Linked DNA regions of Homo sapiens: region 1 is linked to region 2. The links are contacts of gene promoters, found by promoter capture Hi-C in human tissues and cell types (Jung and others, 2019). All regions are on one chromosome and are shown on one strand. Each heading gives the region's core, a stretch centred on a gene start or on the middle of the fragment in contact. The rest is flanking DNA. Distances are from core to core; before and after follow the strand shown. Region 1 overlaps DEUP1 (deuterosome assembly protein 1). Region 2 holds the start of SMCO4 (single-pass membrane protein with coiled-coil domains 4).

Evidence for each region. The method cuts DNA at HindIII sites, captures the fragments that hold promoters and counts their contacts. A contact is called where the count stands out against the background at its distance.
Region 1: a contact is called between a fragment that was not itself captured here and the fragment with the promoter of SMCO4 in region 2, in 1 of the 25 tissues and cell types used here (H1 embryonic stem cells).

What each region holds. Positions count from the first base shown.
Region 1 is chr11:93,362,256-93,365,664 of GRCh38, reverse strand. DEUP1 (deuterosome assembly protein 1) reads right to left here. Exons shown (of 14, transcript NM_181645.4): 5 at 1,371-1,505. Among named protein-coding and RNA genes, the nearest start is that of DEUP1, 33 kb to the right of the region's middle. The HindIII fragment of the contact is 3,388 bases long and covers 1-3,356 here.
Region 2 is chr11:93,541,522-93,544,965 of GRCh38, reverse strand. It overlaps SMCO4 (single-pass membrane protein with coiled-coil domains 4), which reads left to right and starts at 1,575. Exons shown (of 3, transcript NM_020179.3): 1 at 1,575-1,690. RefSeq lists silencers at 1,375-1,504, 1,665-1,714, 1,845-2,084. The HindIII fragment of the contact is 9,629 bases long and covers 1-3,444 here.

The DNA.
Region 1 (3,409 bases), core at 413-2,912, 180 kb after region 2:
TATATAACGTAAATATTTAGTTTCCTAAATGTAAAATGTGCATACACAAAGTACTTGATACTAACTTAAGGCTTTTTTTGTCTGAAAAATTTTTATTAATGTAGTTCTCCCACAAAAGCCCATGAAAAGTCAGTCGAATGGAATATTAGTGACTCAATCTCTTCATTTTCAGTGAAAGCACATGTATATTACAGTGCACATCTATCGGCATCTTCCATGAGGTCAGGATATTTCTGAAGCCCGTCTGGTTGTACCACTGCAAGAGCCTGGGAGTACAACACAGTGCATTTTCCTAGAGGGCCAACTTACTTAGTGATGGTAAGTTTGTTTTTTTAAAAAACTATGTATTATTCAGAAGCATGTAAAATGTGCTGGACTTTTAAAGATTAAAATCTAGGACTTCCTACAAAGATCTTATAATAAGCCGATTTTAGGGCTGTGATCCCGGATTTAATTTTTTTCTGCTCTTTAAGATATTTTAAAGTAGAAGGACTTTTTAATTAAAGATGAAAAAGTGCTGGCAAGGGGAGGGATGCTGGGGTTTAGGGCTTGAGAAAAATGAAAGAAATTAAGTGGGATAACATAAGGGTCAACTTGAAGTCAATTAAAAAATAATAATTGGGCAGTACTGAGAATCCAGGTAAAAGTAGATGATAGGAATTTATAGTGTAATCTTTCTGCTGTTCCATGACTTGTAGGAGGAATGCTCAAGAACACAGGGAAGAAAAATAGCTGGTTTGTTTTTTCCAAGGTTGGAAAACGAAGAAGATAAGAATAAGTGCATCAACGACACAGTGTATTTTTAAAGTTTTTTGTTTTTAATTTTTGTGGGTACATAGTAGATATATATAGTTATGAGGACATAGTGAATTTTTTTTAGAGACCAAAATTTTAGAAATTCTGAATGCTTTGGGGCAATTGAATTGGAGTGACATTATGCCTTTAAAGAAAAAAAACCATGAAACTTCAAGCCCTGTTTTAAAAACTGTGATGAGGCTTCATTGGGATTTAACTACCTAATAGCTAAATGGCCATTAAAAGATTTATTAGATATTCACTTTAACTGACCCCAGGGGTGTCCTTCAATTTTACTCAACAGCTGCAGTTTCTTTTGACTTTTTTGGCTCTTTTTTTTTTAATCTCCCAAAATGCTGATATATGCAAAAGATGTATACATCAAAGTGATGTTTTAATTCACTAAGTGCCTGAGGGGAAGGTGCACTAAGAAAATATATTCAGTGAGAAGTTAGTTTGTAATAGTGTTTATTACCACAACTGAAGACACCATTGTGGACACTAGAGACAAATAGCCCACAACAATAGGAATCAATCTTTAATACACATGAAGAAACTAAGATAATATATCTCACCTCTAATTTCTGGTTCAAATTGCTCAGTTCAAAGGGTATTTCTTCTTTAAGGTGTGGTAATTCTTTTCGTGGAACTTTGTTTTGTTTCATCTGATGTAATCTCAGTTTTTCAAAGTTATTTGTTAGTTTGGAAAACTGTAAATCACAGAAAATGTTAACATTTTACTATTACCAATTATTTCTAACCTGATTTCACTATATCTCTTTTCCTGTGTACCTCTTTGAAAATTTGTCATGATTAGAAAGTGCAGTAAAGCTTAAATGTTTCAATTAGTGAAGACAGAACCAGTTATTAAAACTAAATTATTGAAGCTGAACACAATTCAGCTTTCATGTAAACTCGAGATTCATTAACTGCACAGTTAAACAATTATTCACTTGATAAATGGCTTGTTCAATTTTGTTTTAATCATATGCAGCAAAGCTCACAATTTTTTTAAAAAACAAGTTTTTTTCTTACTTTTAGTTAGTGCCGTCTTGTGTTTACAATTTTAAATCCAGTAAATCTACAAAATAACTAGCTTATACCTTACTTAAGAAAACAGAATATGTATTAATTTAAAAGACATAAGTAACATAAGCCACTTATTCATGTGGATACGTTTAAATAAATTTTAATATCAAAATTGATCTAATATTTTTCTTAATGATAATTCTTTTTATAACATTGTATTATTTTTTCCATTTCCTGTTCTACCTTCAAATAATAGATTCAAAGTAGCATAGTTTATGAACATTTGTGAGGAAATTTCTATACTCATGTATCTGTTTTCAAATGTGTCTTGTTTACACATTTTATTTTAAAATAATTATAGGTTTACAGGAAGTTCCAAAGTTATTACTGAGGTCCCAGGTTCTCTTCACCCAGTTTCCCCCAATATTTACATCTTATTGAACCACAGTACATCAAACCCAGGAAATTGAAATTGGACCAATATATGTATATAGTTCTATGCCATTTTATCACATATATAGATTTATCTGACCACAACCACAATCTAGATATAGACTATTCTGTCACCACAAAGATCTCCTTCATGCTATCCCTTTAGAATCACACTTAGTCCCCTCATCCCCCAACCCCTAATCCCTGAAAACCACTAATTTGTTTTCCATCTCTATAATTTTGAGAATGTTATAAAAAGAAATCATACAGCACATTACCTTTTGGGATTGTATTTTTTTCACTCAGCTTAATGTGAAAGCCATGCATGAATTCCTTTTTAGTGCTGAATAGTATTCCATGGTATAAATGTATCAGTTTGTTTAACCATTCATATATTGAGACATTTTGATTTTTTCCAGTTTTTGTCTACTGTAAATAATGCTATGAACAATGGTGTCTACTTTATCAGATTAATTAAAGTAGCCACTTCTGCTTTTTTCCTCATAATTTTAAATTGAGATATAATTCACCTACTATAAAATTCACCTGAATAATATTCCATTGCATAAATACACTACATTTTGTTTATCCATTCATCAACTGATAGAAATGTGGGTTGTTTCCACTTTGAGATATTATAAATAATGCTACTGTGAACAGTTACATAGAAGTTTTTGTGTAGATACATGTTTTACTTTCTCTTGGGTATATACCTAGGAGTGGAATTGTTGGATCTTATAGTAACTTTAATAACTTTTTGATGAACAGAAAAATTGTCTTCCAAAATGGCTGTACCATTTTCCATTCCCATTCACAATACATTGGGTTACAATGTCTCCATATCCTCTCCAACACTTGTTATTTTCTTTTTTATTATAACCATCCTAGTGGATGTGAATGGATATTGTGGTTTTGGTTTCCATATCCCTAATGACTAATGATGTTAAGCATTTTTTATGTGCTTATTGGCCATTCATATATCTGCTTTGGAGAAATATCTATTCAAATATTTATCCATTTTAAAATTTGGTCATCTGTCTTTTTATTATTAATTAGTAAGTTATTCATATATTCTAGATACTAGTCCCTTATCAAATATATGGTTTACAAATATTTTCTCCCCATTGCTGGGGGTCTTTTCACTTTCCTGATG
Region 2 (3,444 bases), core at 326-2,825:
CTTACCTCACACACGCGTGTTCCCCTCATTCTTTCAGCGCATAGAACACTAAAAAGATGCTCCTTAAATACATGCTAAATAAACTGATCAATAGTTGCCTTTTATTAAATATCTTTGTGTTTCAGGTATTTCCTTATTTCCTTCACAGACCGGATCATGAATGATCTCCCAATGTGACAAGGTCTTATTCTCCACAGTTTACCGTTGAGGGGACTGAGGTGCAGAAAGCCCAAGGTGTATGCAGCCCAATCCCCTCTGATCCCACTCTACTGCATTGCTGCCTTTTGTACGCAGCAGGAAGGACACTTCCTGTAAAAATGAAAAAAAAAGCCTTAAGTTGTTTGAGAGAGGGTCAGGAAGAAAACAGGAAGAGCCAGTAGACTGCAGGTGCTTTCAAAGGGCTCCCTGTCTTTGACATCCCTAAAATAAAAACTTGTTAATTAAGAGATTGGCCACAGAAATCCAGGTGGAAAACCTGCAGAAGAGTGGGTTCCACAATTCTTCAAAACAGAACAAAAAAACCCCAAGACTTGTTATATTTTTACCGGTGGAGGGGAAGAGGTTACAGGAGTGGCCTTGCTCCCCGGGCTGGCCTTGCTGAGCAGGTGACAATACCACACATATAAAGGTTTTAAGGTGAAAAGGTAGTCAATATTTTACATTTCGAAGATAGTTTTTAAAATCACCTACTGCATCAGTAGTAATACAACAATAACTACCATTTACATACCACCGCACACATCGGGGCTGCGTAAAGAACTTTATAGTGCACCATCTCAATTAATTCTCACAACTCTGTGAAGTAGGTTTTATTATTCTTAATTTATAGACGTGTTCACTGTGGGCCAGGGAGATGAGCTTTCCCGCGATTGCCCAGCTTTTAAGAGGTAGATCTCAAACCTAAACGTGTTTGACCAAAAGCCCTGAATAACATTTAGCCGTGGGCCTCTTGCGGATTTGGCGCTGGTCCGAGGTGGGGAATTGTGAATCTCATTTATTTATGCTGAGCTGCGCACACATATGCACGTGTAAGTTACAAAAAACAAATCCAGGTCAGGATCTCTGTCCGCTTGAGGTTTCAAAGCCTACTTGGGTAGACAGCGGTAAAAGTCTCAACTCATTCATCTACTCGTTTGCTCTCTTCACAAGTATTTATTGCGCACTTCAGTATTCCAGACAGGGCGCTAACCTTGCCCTGGAGGAGAGAATGGTGAACACAACAGACATGGCGTTTGCCTCCAACTATCCCCTTTCCGATTCTGCTATCTCACGGGCGAGGCGTTCAAAGAAGCAGGAAATATATCAACAAGGGGGTGACTTAAGCACCCGCTGCGCGGGAGCCGGAGGAAGCGCGCTGAGCCTGCAGAGGTGGTCAGGGCGAACTTCCTGGAGGCAGCGGCAGCAGCAGGCCGGGCGAGAACCCAGGTCGCTCGGAAGCGACAGTCTGAGCCGGGAACGGGGAAGAGGGGGCGGGAGCCGAGGCCCGGGCGGGGGCAGCCAGCGAGTTAGGGTTAGGACGGGAGGATTCGGCTTCCCGGCGGCAGAGGGCGCCTGGCGCTGCGGTCTGGCGCGCCAGAGTCGCCCGCGCGGGCGCCGAGAGGAGAGGCGAGGCGGGGAGCGCAAGCGGCGGCGGCCACTGCCACGTATTCCCGGCAGTGGTGGCGGCGGCGGCGGCGGCGCCCGCGGGCAGGTGGGCTGGGAGCGGCGCGGCGGCGGCGGCGGCGGGGCGGGCGAGCCGGCGGGCGGGCGCGGGGCACGGGGCACCGGGCACCGGGCGGGGGTGCGGCGCCGGGACAGTACGGTTCCCGCCACGCCGGCTCCGCCTCCGCGCAGTGCTGCTGACCCAGGCCTGGGCGCCCGGCGGGTCCCGAGCGCAACTCGTGCGGGCGGGGTTGGGGGCCCGAGGGACTCGAGCTCGCCTGCCCGTCGCGGCTCGAGACGCTGCATCCCGGTTGCTGCGGGGCGGGGGCTGGGAAAAGTTGGGGCGGACCGCGAGCCCGCGGGGCCGGGCGGGAAGTGCGGGTGCGGGGCGGACTCAGGGGCCGGGGGACGCAGTGCAAAGGGCTTGGGCCGGGGCGGCCGGGAGGGCCCCGTATGGGAAGGTGGGAAACGCGGGTCCTTTGAGGACGCCGAGAAAGGGGTGCGCTCAGGGTCTCTGGGAGTGGACAAGAGTCCGGCGGCGGACCTTGCGGGTGAGAAGGGTCGGCGCCTGGGGGTCGGGGAGTAGAGGTGAGGCGGGGGCGGGATAGAGCCTTCCTCCTCCCCCGTTCTTTCGGGACCGACCCTGAGACCCGGGGCAGGCTCCGAGCTGGGTACGCCTCTGGCATCTGAAGACCCAGTGGGGAGTTCCTGTACGGGGTGGGTGGAGGAGGGAGCTGAGCGTTGCTTCCTCTGCTGCTGGGGCCGACTACCGCCCCTCCCCAGCGGCCAGATTCACCTCAGACTGCAGTGCTTTTGCCCTGAGGAAGTTGAGGAGGGACAGCTGAGCGGATGAGATGTTTGGGGTGTTCCAAGATGAGTGGGATTAGGCTGCATGATATCATAACTATCTCCGGGAGCTGTCAGAAAACACTCCCATGTCCTCATACACCCACCCATCCACTCATCCAGTCAGTACTGCCAAGCTCCAGGCTCCCTTGCTCTTTAAGTGACACCTCTAGATCCCCAGAGCCCAACAGCGCATCTGCTCACAGCCTCGAGGGTGGCAAGGGTGGAAGACATGGCCTGCTAGTGTCTGCGTAGGTTGGTGCTTTCAGAAACAAGTGGTTCTGGAGGTGCTGGATGCTTTATTAGAACAACCTGTGTGGAGCCCGTTGACAATGCAGATGACTCATGTTGGCTTTTTTTTTTTCCCCTTTACAAATAAACTTTGTATTCAAGACACCAGTATGCCTGGTCATTTGCAGCAGTGATACGGCAAGAGACCCATAGTGGGCTTCTTGAGCCCTTATTCTCGTCCTAGATGTGTTAGCAAGAAGTTTGACCTTGGATGAGTCACTTGCTCTCTCTGGACTTCTGTTTTCTTATCTGTCACATGGGGTATAAAGAGAGAGCTCGACAGTGTGATGTAGACAGGAGTAGGTTTCTGAGGGACACAGTGAAATCTTTTTTCTTGTAAGGCTGGATCAGCCACAGAAAATAAGCCTTAGCCTGTTCTTATAAAGAAATTAGCTTAGATTTAAAATAAAATATGAGAAGAAATATTGCAAAAAGCAAAACAACAAAAAACTAATAGTAGTTGGTACTCGATTTACAACATGAATACTGTTCTTATGCTTGCAGTTAGTGTACTTGGTTGTCCAGCTATCTACTATAAAGTTGCTCATTGTGCTTAGAAAGTGTGTATTTCACCTGTGGACCCGAATTTTTTCTTATTGTTTAATCTTCAAGCTTGGAGTGGACGCTCAAGCTTGGAGTTGGATTGGTCCTGCTGGGGTTTGTCTG